Regions from separate parts of the Homo sapiens genome. Here regions 1, 3 and 4 are each linked to region 2. Evidence: promoter capture Hi-C in 16 types of primary human blood cells and fetal thymus (Javierre and others, 2016). All regions are on one chromosome and are shown on one strand. Each heading gives the region's core, a stretch centred on a gene start or on the middle of the fragment in contact. The rest is flanking DNA. Distances are from core to core; before and after follow the strand shown. Region 1 overlaps TBC1D14 (TBC1 domain family member 14). Region 2 holds the start of MRFAP1 (Morf4 family associated protein 1). Region 3 overlaps TBC1D14 (TBC1 domain family member 14). Region 4 overlaps TBC1D14 (TBC1 domain family member 14).

Region 1 (2,700 bases), core at 168-2,667, 330 kb before region 2:
TAAGAATTGCTTATCACCGCAATTCTTCACAACATTGATCACAACTATAATTATATGTAGAGTTATTTGTTTAAATCTGTCTTTTCCTTGACCCATGGTAAATTCCAACGAAGGCAAGGGCCACAGAAGTCTTTGCCCTTCACTGTAATCTCAGGATGGATCTACTCAGAGGCTCAAATCTGTGAAACAAACAAAAGGGCCATGGAATCCAAGAAAGAAGGTTCCCCTTTACTCACAAGGCAAAGGACTGCACTTCCGAGGCAGTGTCACCATCCATGCTGCCCTGGCCAGAGTCCAGCTCATACAAAGCCAGCAACCAGAGGCCTGAAGGCAGCTCTCTCCAAATACATGCTCCCATCTTTATCCACAATAACTTCTCCGGTTCACCAGCAGTTACTGAAATTTGCCTGGCCGGTGGGCTTTGGGCCCTTTATTTAACCTGCTGTGGCAAAGATGGCTATTTTCCTTCCAATAGCTAACATTCTCTTCCTGCATACCGATAGTTCTTAAATTTTGGCATGCATTAGAATGACCTGTAGCTTCTGTTAAAACAAAACTTGTTGGGCCCCAGCCCCAGAACTTGGTTTGATGTGTCTGGAGTAAGGCCCGAGAACGTGCATTTCTAGCAAATGCCCGGGTGATGCTGATGTGACTACTCCGGGGACCGCAACTGGACAGCCACTGTTGTACTGTTATTCTCCTACCCGTGGTCATTTTTGTTTCCCCTGTTAAGAAAATCGCTCTCAAACTACCATCGAGGTTAACAAAAAATATGACTTAATTTTCAAAATGTTTATGCAATTTGAAAAGATAACTAAAAGTTAACATTTCAATATTTCCCCAAAATAGTAATATATAAGGCCCAAGCCAAAAGAATGCAGCCCAGTTAGAATAAAATCCGATGTACTGGGCAAATGTCCTGGGCAAACCACATATGGGATCAACACCACAAATCGGACCTATTGATTAAAAGTCAAGACATCCATTCCTTGACTAGTAACGCCGGGCGACTCACTGTGTTCAACCCTGGGCAAAAATACACCACATGCGCATTATCCCTTAGTGTAGAACAATTAAGCAAGTAGATGTCATAATGCCTGTTTAGCAGATGAGGAAACTGAGAAGTAGTCATTGGCTCAACAGAGACAAAAAGTGGTGAAGCCAGAAACCAAACCCAAGCCTGCAAGTCCAAAGCTCCTGGCCAGTGTGCACACCTGACCCCAGCTCAACCACAGGCTCCTTGAAGCAGGTCCAAAGCTCCTGGCCAGTGTGAACACCTGACCCCCAGCTCAGCCACAGGCTCCTTGAGGCAGGTCCAAAGCTCCTGGCCAGTGTGAACACCTGACCCCAGTTCAACCACAGGCTCCTTGAGGCAGGTCCAAAGCTCCTGGCCAGTGTGCACACCTGACCCCAGCTCAACCACGGGCTCCTTGAGGCAGGTCCAAAGCTCCTGGCCAGTGTGCACACCTGACCCCAGCTCAACCACGGGCTCCTTGAGGCAGGTCCAAAGCTCCTGGCCAGTGTGCACACCTGACCCCAGCTCAGCCACGGGCTCCTTGAGGCAGGTCCAAAGCTCCTGGCCAGTGTGCACACCTGACCCCAGCTCAGCCACGGGCTCCTTGAGGCAGGTCCAAAGCTCCTGGCCAGTGTGAACACCTGACCCCAGCTCAGCCACAGGCTCCTTGAGGTAGGTCAACCCAACTGCTCTTGGGCTCCCAGTGCGCAGCACAAGACCTGGCCTCAACATGGCTCAGTACTTGTTGGCCAAGCAGATGAAGAATGCACTGAAGAGCTCAGGCTCATTCTCTTGCACTGTGTTCCGTTGTTCCATTTCCTGTTGTTCAAGGTTGACTTGTCATAAGAAAGAAACAACGGTAACAGCAAATACTTTCTATGTCCACTACTATTCTGAGTGCGTGTGTGTATTCACCCGTTTAATCCTCACCACCATGGAGGCAGGTGCTACTGTTCTCCATACTGTAGAGATGAGGAAAATGAGGCTCAGAAAGGTTAAATAACTTGCCCAAAGTCACACAACCAAACCGTAGCAGAGCTGGGATACAAACCCTGGTAGTCTAACTCCAAAGTCCAAGTTCTTATGTCACCACGTGATGTTGCTCTCTCAAGTAATAAGAAAACTTCCAGAGAAGGAAAAGGAATTTCCTCAACACTTTCTCTAGGCTTCGGCCCTGACTGGAGTTATTGTCACCATCCTGATCACAAGTCTAGGCTGTCATGGCCCCAGCGCCTGCCTCTCTCAAGTGCAGGCTGTGTGAGCCCATGCCTATGACAGCAGCCAGCCCCAGCCAGCAGCGCAGAGGCCTCCCCACAGTGCTGAGTCCCTGACCCTGAGCCCCTCCCAGGCTTCACCAAGTCCCTTGGGTTGGGAGATGAGCGATGAGAGGGCCAGAGACAAGCAAGCAGGTCCCGGGCAGGATTGAATGACTCGCGCAGGTAAGTTACATTCTTTATTATTGACGACGGAAGCAGATGGTCCTCCTCTTGGCAATATTGTGTTACCGCATAATGAACTGGCCTAGTCATTTCAGTTCACAGAAAAAAAAAAATCCTCTAAGGTCAAGAACATAATCCATGCTCCCCTCAAAAAAAAAACAGGGTCGGGCCGGGCATGGTGGCTCATGCCTGTAATCCCAGCACTTTGGGAGGCCGAGGCAGGTGGATCACAAGGTCAGGAGATTG
Region 2 (2,700 bases), core at 43-2,542:
CTTACAATCTAGGCCCTAATTCCTGTATGTGAGAGCATTTTCAAACAAAATTACTTCCCAAACAAAAACACGTTAACAATCGAAACTCATATTGAGGTCATCAACCACAGACCATAGCAGAAAACGTAGTGTTAAGTGAGACAGAGCATAGACAGGAAAAAAGAGAAAACAAAAGGCTCTCTGGTTTCGGCTTCTCCAGGGTGTCAGCCAATCTCCACCAGTTGACCAGAATCCATTGGCTGGAAACCTAAAGCACAATGGGAAGAAATTCATCATCGAGAGGTTAATCCCAGGCACAACGACCCCCAAACCCTCACGAACGCCACTGTGCAGGACGCCACCTCTTCTGGCCACCACCTGACTCACTCCAGTCTCTAGCAACGTTGACTTGTCCAACGTCTTCCCCGAAAATCCTCTATTTCCACCCCCGCTTGCTGGACGGCCCGGGACCTTGTCCGTTTCTGTTTCCTTGGCGACTCTGAGATTTATGACCCTTCCACTGAACACGCATCACGCCCAAACCCGGCCACTCTGATTATCCCACGCCGCCACCGTCAAAAAACAAAACACGAAGACGGGGCCCAGATCGGCCCTGACCCGAGCACGCCTTTATTCTCCCGCCCCACCCCCGATTCCGGTGCATCTCGATGAAATCATCGCTCTCGAAGAGCGGCCAAGCTGGGGCCGCTCCTCGGCCTGGCGCGGGTGCCCGACTTACCGCCGACCGCGCTCACGACGACTCGCTCTTCTCTATCCGCCGGACCAGCTCCACCAGCATCTCTGCCATCTTCGCAATCTCCTTGGCCTTCTCCTCGGCCTTCTCGCACCTCTTGGCCGCCCGGCCCTCGGCCGCGTCGCCCGGGTTCTGGAGGTGGTTGAGGGCGCTCTCCTCCGAGGCCTCCACCTGCGTTTTGATCTGGATGAGCATATTGTCCATCTCCCACAGCTTGCTCCGGTTCCGCAGGTACGCCCGCCCGTGCTCGCGCGTCAGCGACGCGATGTCCTCGCGCATCTCGTTGATGACCGGGAGCAGAAACTGCTCGAAATCCTCCTCGGGCTCCAGCACCTCCACTTCCTCCGGTTCCGCCAGCTCGACGATGTCCAGGGGCCGCATCTCTTCCCACTGCCTCGGAACCGCAATAGCGATGTCTGTTGGAGAGAGAAAACCGACACTCGCTATGCTTAGCAATAGAGAGCCCGAATATTCCTGAAAACTTTTACCCTTTTTCAACTTTTCTTCTCAGAGAAGCCACGGACAAGCGACTTACGCGCAGAGTAACGGCGAACAAAATGGAGTCCCGGCCGTCAACCAGCGCTCTGCGCGTTGCGGCCCCTTTCACGACACAGCCGGGCCTCTTTACGGTCAGGGGGGCGAGCTGCGGGCGCGCGCACGTCTAGAAAGAGAGGCACCGGCGGCGGCGTCGCGGCCGCACGGACGCGCACGCAGGCACGCGCAGGTACGGGACCGCACGCTCTCGCTCGTTCCTGCTTTCCCGTTACCTCTGTGCGTCACCCCTGTTTTACCCTGTGTTTGGAGGGTGGCCTCTTCTGGGTGTTTCCCTCCGATAGGGCTTCTTGAGCACGCGAGTTTACATTTTTTAAAAAGGCCTCCCGCACTTCCCAGGCGCGGTGGCTCACGCCTGTAATCTCAGCACGTTGGGAGGCGAGGTGGGTGGATGGCTTGAGGTCAGGAATTCGAGACCAGCCTGGCCGACATGGCGAGACCCCGTCTCTACCAAAAATACAAAAATTAGCCGGGCGTCGTGTTGCACGCGTGTAACCCCAGCTGCTTGGGAGGCTGAGACAATCGTTTGAAAACGGGAGGCGGAGGTTGCAGTGAGCCCATATCGCGCCACTGCTCTCCAGCCTGTGCATCAGAGTGAGACTCCGTCGCAAAATAAATAAATAAAATATAAATGAAAATTAAAAAGGGCCTTCCACACTAGAAGAGGAGGATCCTACGTGATAATGCAGCTACCCCAGGTGGACGCTTAAAGCCCCTTCCTTTCACGCAGGGGGACCTGAGTCCCCTCAGCCGTTTTATTTACTTTTTTTTTTTTTTTTTTTGGAGACAGAGTCTGGCTCTATCGCCCAGGCTGGAGTGCAGTGGCACGATCTCGGCTCACTGCAAACTCCACCTCCGGGGTTCACACCATTCTCCTGCCTCAGCCTCGCGAGTAGCTGGGACTACAGGCGCCTGCCACCGCACCCGGCTAATTTTTTGTATTTTTAGTAGAGACGGGGTTTCACCGTGTTAGCCAGGATGGTCTCGATCTCCTGACCTCGTGATCCATCCACCTCGGCCTCCCAAAGTGCTGGGATTACAGGCGTAAGCCACCGTGCCGGGCCTTATTTACTTATTATTATTTAAAAAGTTTTTTTTTTTTATTGAGGCAGGGTCTCGGTCTGTCGCCCAGGCTGGAGTCCAGTGGTGGGATCATGGCTCACTGCAGCCTTGATCTTCTGGCCTCAAGTGATCCTTCCACTTCGGGCCTCCCAAAGTGCAGAGATTACAGGCATGAGCCGTGCGCCTGGCCCTTTCTGCCTTTTTAAAGAGTAGTTTTCCTTCTTCCTTGGATGACAGTCAGAAGGGTCTGGGTGTCTTTTCACCAAACCGGCCTCCCCACACCCCAAGGTGGAGCCTGGCTGCTCCGTCCTGAGGCCCCAGCAGACCCATGTTCAGTGTGTGGTGCAAGGCGC
Region 3 (2,700 bases), core at 167-2,666, 350 kb before region 2:
TGTGGATGCCCATTTCCATCGGCTTTTGTGTGCTCTGTGCATGTGGACTCACTTTGTCTTCACAGCAATCTGCTTGGCAAGTGTTACCCATTTTAAAGACAGGGTAACTGAGGCTCAAAGTGAAGTGACTTGCCTGAAGCATACAGCCAGCAAGGCTGGGCCTGCCGCCCTGAGCCGGCCCAATATCATCTGTGAATACACTCAAACCCACAGGTGTGCAGTTTTAGAGGGGAAAGCCCGAGTCCTACACGGCTTAGGTGTGGCCTCTGCAGCCAGATAGCTCTGGGAGCAAATTCAGATCCACCAACCACCAGCTGTGACCTCGGGCAAGGTACTCACTTCAAATCCCTAAGCCTTCTTTCCACATCTGCAAAATGGGAAACCCCGCCTGCCTCACCCTGAGTGGGCTGCTGGAAGGAATGAGGTGATGTCACAGCCTCTGGTGCACAGGGAGTGCTGGAGAAGGGCAGCCCTTGTTGGTCTGCGCCACTAGCTTTCTCTCCCCTCAGACCTGAAACCACGGGAAAGGCAGAAAACCATGCTCTAGTGCCAAACAACAATCTAGGAGCCCTGCCAAGTTGCCAACAGCACAGATACAAAAAGTAGGAGTAAAAGGAAGTAAAAGCCTTGAGTCATGACCAGAAACATCAGATCGCTTCAGTCAGAGCTTCTTACTATTACCAACAGCAACAAACAGTGGCGGCGGCTGACGCTAACAAGCCCAGCACCTCTGAGTGCTTTACGCGTGCACACTGGGTTAACTCCATCTCCTCCACACCAGCCCCCCGAAGGGGCTGCTCCACCCTAGACCATGCTGGGTTAACTCCATTTCCTCCACACCAGCCCCCCGAAGGGGCTGCCCCATCCCAGACCACGCCAACAAGACAGCTGCACAAGGACACGCTGTACCTCACCAGCGCAAAGCTGTGGCTGTGGTCAGATGGCCCAACGAAGGTTCAAGAAAAAAAAGCAGGGATGCAGGCTACCTGAGGCAGGCATGGTTTCCTGCCTCTTCCAGTGGTTTCAGGTCTGAGGGGGAGAAAAAGCAAGTGCCACAGACCAACAAGGGCTGCTGTTTCTCCAGCACTCCCTGTGCACCAAACACACACGGGGACCCAGAGGTGTCCGTGACTTACCCGGCGGGCAAGTGGGGAAGCTGGGTCACAGGCCACGCGCTGGGGTTCCGCAGCCACACTCCTCATCACAGAATTCATGCAAGCCTCTGGCAGACATGCATCAGAAGTAATCCATCATTCAGATTCAGTCTCAGTAGTTTTCACAACCGTGACCGAAACCTCAAATACTGAACTAAGTGCACAGATCAGCAGAGACGCAGGGTCAAATGCTTGTTTTAATCACAGACCAAGGCATGATTAAAATAATAAAGTAACACAGGTGGCCTAGCCTGCTCATACTTGAAATCCCAGGCAAAGCCCTTTCCAAAACCTTAGGCACCCTTTCAGAAGAGAAATGGTGTTGGAAATGGTGACAGGTCCTGCTCTAGACCCGGTTCTCCCAGGGCAACCTGGAGGTGACAACAGTAAGCTCACTGTCCAGGCCAGACAAACCAACTTTAGAAAGAAGAAAGAGGACTGTTCACTCCCAGGATCCCGGAGGGAAGAAACAGCACTGGAGAAAGAACACTCAGTTGTGGATTATCAGCGCTAAGGTCGGGCTAGCAAGGGATAAGGCTCTGGAAGTAAAACCAGAGTTCTAGGTCCTGGCTTGGGTGAGTCGTCTTGTCTCTCAGTCTGTTCTCAGCTATAAAACAGTAGCAACTGTACAGACCACTGTGGCGGTCAAGAGATAAGATATGTAAAATGGCTGGGCACTCACTCCCTCAAGTGCCAAGCCCTTTCTGTGTGCCAGGCAAGTACTGGTGCGGTCCACTTCAGTCCAACTCATCATTCCCAAGTTCCATCTCTGCATGGGACCAAATTTTGAAGTCTCTTGGTTTAAACCAAGCATCGATGCCCGTCTTGCTGTGCTCGTCAAAATCCCTGCAGACTAACAGGTAAAATAAACTGCCCACTTAAGTGACAGCTGCCACCCTGGACAACCCTAAAGGGAATTTATTTATTTATTTTTGAGGAGTCTCGTTCTGTCACCCAGGCTGAAGTGCAGTGGTGCAACCTTGGCTCACTGCAACCTCTGCCTCCCGGGTTCAAGCGATTCTCCTGCCTCAGCCTCCCAAGTAGCTGGGATTACAAGCGCGTGCCACCAGGCCCAGCTAATTTTTGTATTTTTAGTAGAGACAGGGTTTTGCCATGTTGGCCAGGCTGGTCTGGAACTCCTGATCTCAAGTGATCCACCCACCTCAGCCTCCAAAGTGCTGGGATTACAGGCGTGAGCCACTGCACCCAGCCCCCAGAAGGAATTTAGAACAAGGTTCTTCAAAGTTCTAGCAGCAGATCAGTTTGATTGGTCACAACAGCATTTTTAAAAAAAACAAAACAATAAAACACAGTACATAAATACAATTTGCTTCAGCTTTACACTTAGTTATGTCAGTACAATGAGTCTCAATTTAAAGTGTCTAACTGGGGATAATTTCAAAAAAGTTTGCAGGCTGTCAGTTTAGAAGCACAGTTGTTCGAAGTCCCTGCTCTGGGCAGCTTATAAGGAATCACGCTGGGAAAGACGAGACCATACCAACATGGCAGCAGCACCTCACTAGCAGCCAACTTGTGGGGTGTGGTC
Region 4 (2,700 bases), core at 170-2,669, 270 kb before region 2:
TATGCCCATTACCCAGAGGAGGAAACCGAGGCATGCAGCCTGCCCAAGGTCTCCACTGTGGCGGAGCTGGGCTTGAACTCAAGTCTGTGACTCCAAGGCCCCTCAGTAAGCTTTGCTGCTCACAAAGGCATGTCACAGACATAAGCACCTCTGCTCACCTCACCCTGTAAACAGCATGCTGAGTTCTACCGTTTCCAGATGGGAATAACAAAACTGGGCTGAGCAGGTGCAGTGACCCCCAACCCCCTACCCCGGTCGCAGGGGGTTGACCTGAGGCATCTGTCCCCAGCACCCACAGCATTCTCCGCAAGGCCTCTCAGGGTCCCCCATGTTTCCTGGTGAGGATTCTGGGGAGACTAAGAGCCTCCTCATAAAAGCAGCTGCTCTTATGAGCGTCCTGCCCTGGAGGGCAGCACGGTTCAAGAGAAACAGCCCAGTCGAGCCTCTAATGCCAAGGAGAACCCACTGGGCAATGGGGCACCTCCCTGTGAACTGGCCTGCCTGGTAGAGGGCTCCACAAGCACCAACCCCTGCATCTCTTTCTCTTTTTGTTTTGTTTCTGAGACAGAGTCTCACTCTGTCGCCCAGGCTGGAGTGCAGTGGCATGATCTGGGCTCACCACAACCTCCGCCTCCCGGGTTCAAGCGATTCTCCTGCCTCAGCCTCCTGAGTAGCTGGGATTACAGCCGCCCACCACCACGCCCGGCTAATTTTTGTATTTTTAGTAGAGACAGGGTTTCACCCTGTTGGCCAGGCTAGTCTCAAACTCCTGACCTCAAGTGATCGCCTGCCTCAGCCTCCCAAAGTGCTGGGATTACAGATGTGAGCCATTGAGCCCAGCCTCTTTCTCTTTTTTAATTCAAGTCCTGGCTCAGGCAGAAAGGACTGGACGCTCCAGGCTCACGAACATGACCAGCTAGCTGCCTCCGCTCCCCAAGCGCAGATGACACATCAGGCACTGCATTCCATGTCTATATGCACTAGTTCTGTCACCTCCACAACCACCCAAAGAGCTGAAAGAAGACTGCGGTCTAAAGGGTGGTGCGTAGTAACAGAGCTGTGCCGGGCTAGCCTGAGTAGCCGAGGCACTCACTGTTTCCACTGCTACACACACAGCCTAAAACAGTGGATTGATCTGCATTATGTAAAATGGAAAAGGCCATTATAAAAGTAGTTTGGCTTTTAAATGGGTGATTCTTTAGGATAAAAATAGTCCTGAAAAAAATTTCCTAGAAGCTCACATATTCCTCCAGAGGGTGAGTGGCAACTTTCAGACACCTGGAACTTAACACAATGCTGTTTAAGTAAGTTTCAGCCCATGTATGTTTCGGCAAACCAGGCAGAAACTGCGGTTATTGTTCAGGGTCCTCAAAGGCTCCTTCACAACCCGAAGAAGCGGACACTTAACTTATACTGACCACTGGTTATGATTAAAGGCACAGGTGGAACTTTTTTTTTTTTTTTGAGATGGGGTCTCTGTCACCCAGGCTGCAGTACAGATGTATGATCTTGGTTCACTGCAACCTCCACCTCCCAGGCTCAAGTGAGCCTCCCACCTCAGCATCCTGAGTAGCTGGGACCACAGGTGCCCGCCACCACGTCCACCCAGCTAATTTTTTGTTGTTGTTGTTGTTGTTTTGGTAGGGTTTCACCATGTTGCCCAGGCTGGTCTTGAACTCCTGAGCTCAAGTGATCCACCCTCCTCAACCTCCCAAACTGCTGGGATTAGAGGCATGAGCCACAGCGCCTGGCCAGGACATTTTAAATTAAAGACTTTCAATGCAAAATGTTTCAGCTTCACTTAGTGATTTGGTAAATTACTAATTAACTAATTTTCCTAAGTAGCTGTGAAGTGACTGGGAGGCAAATGATACATTAGGAAGATATTTAGACTACTTAAAACCGGTATAGTTTATAATCTTAATTATTCATAAGAGAAATAATTTACTGAGCATTTAGCATGCACCAAGCATGCGGGATGCCATCACATGCTCTAATAATCACAAGCCTGCCAAGGGCACTGAGGAAACTATGAGATTCAGAGAGGCTAAGTCACGCACCCAAGGTCACACAGCAACAGAAACTGAGTTCAAACCAGATCTGACATCAAAGCTCATACATGGCCTGCTGGCGTACTTATGAATGCAGTCCCTAAACTTTATCCCCCTTCCTCTCAGCTCCCTTAATGTTGCCCAAAAGGTATATTCACCCAATAACCCTGATCATCGATAAGCTGAACACTTAACCATTCTTACACTTCTATGTATGTTTGTTAGGCTGCAAATGAAGTTTTAAAAATAAAATAGGCCAGGCGTGGTGGCTCACGCCTGTAATCCCAGCACTTTGGGAGGCCCAGGCAGGTGGATCACCTGAAGTCAGGGGTTCAAAACCAGCCTGGCCAATATAGCAAAACCCTGTCTCCACTAAAAATACAAAATTAGCCAGGCATGGTGGCACATGCCTGTAATCCCAGCTACTGGAGAGGCTGAGGCAGGAGAATCGCTTGAACCTGGGAGACAAAGGTTGCAGTGAGCCGAGATCTCACACCATTGCACTCCAGCCTGGGCAACAAGAGCGAAACGCTGTCTCAAAAAATAGAATAGAATAGAACAGAACAAAACAAAAAACAAAACAAAATCAACAGGAGGGAAAAAATAATGCAGGTTCCAGCAGCAGGCTGCCTGGGTTCAAGTCCCAGCT

The links. Contacts are between HindIII fragments. The CHiCAGO score rates a contact against its expected background, and 5 or more counts as called.
Region 1: a fragment that was not itself captured here is called in contact with the fragment with the promoter of MRFAP1 in region 2 in 10 of 17 cell types (total CD4 T cells, naive CD8 T cells, total B cells and 7 more); the score reaches 10.2 in total CD4 T cells.
Region 3: a fragment that was not itself captured here is called in contact with the fragment with the promoter of MRFAP1 in region 2 in 9 of 17 cell types (neutrophils, naive CD4 T cells, naive CD8 T cells and 6 more); the score reaches 16.8 in neutrophils.
Region 4: a fragment that was not itself captured here is called in contact with the fragment with the promoter of MRFAP1 in region 2 in 8 of 17 cell types (naive CD8 T cells, non-activated CD4 T cells, activated CD4 T cells and 5 more); the score reaches 9.8 in naive CD8 T cells.

The regions. Positions count from the first base shown.
Region 1 is chr4:6,969,626-6,972,325 of GRCh38, reverse strand. The region is part of intron 3 of TBC1D14 (TBC1 domain family member 14); the gene reads right to left. Among named protein-coding and RNA genes, the nearest start is that of TBC1D14, 61 kb to the right of the region's middle. RefSeq lists an enhancer at 911-1,548. The HindIII fragment of the contact is 3,338 bases long and covers 1-2,700 here.
Region 2 is chr4:6,639,277-6,641,976 of GRCh38, reverse strand. MRFAP1 (Morf4 family associated protein 1) reads right to left here and starts at 1,292. Exons shown (of 2, transcript NM_033296.3): 1 at 719-1,292; 2 at 1-247. The coding sequence starts at 1,114. The coding sequence ends at 731. LOC124900653 (a long non-coding RNA gene) reads left to right here and starts at 1,356. Exons shown (of 2, transcript XR_007058007.1): 1 at 1,356-1,457. RefSeq lists a silencer at 255-324 and an enhancer at 2,298-2,700. The HindIII fragment of the contact is 23,430 bases long and covers 1-2,700 here.
Region 3 is chr4:6,989,834-6,992,533 of GRCh38, reverse strand. The region is part of intron 3 of TBC1D14 (TBC1 domain family member 14); the gene reads right to left. Among named protein-coding and RNA genes, the nearest start is that of CFAP184, 52 kb to the left of the region's middle. The HindIII fragment of the contact is 3,241 bases long and covers 1-2,700 here.
Region 4 is chr4:6,912,900-6,915,599 of GRCh38, reverse strand. All of the region lies in intron 1 of TBC1D14 (TBC1 domain family member 14), which reads right to left. Among named protein-coding and RNA genes, the nearest start is that of TBC1D14, 4.4 kb to the right of the region's middle. The HindIII fragment of the contact is 2,613 bases long and covers 113-2,700 here.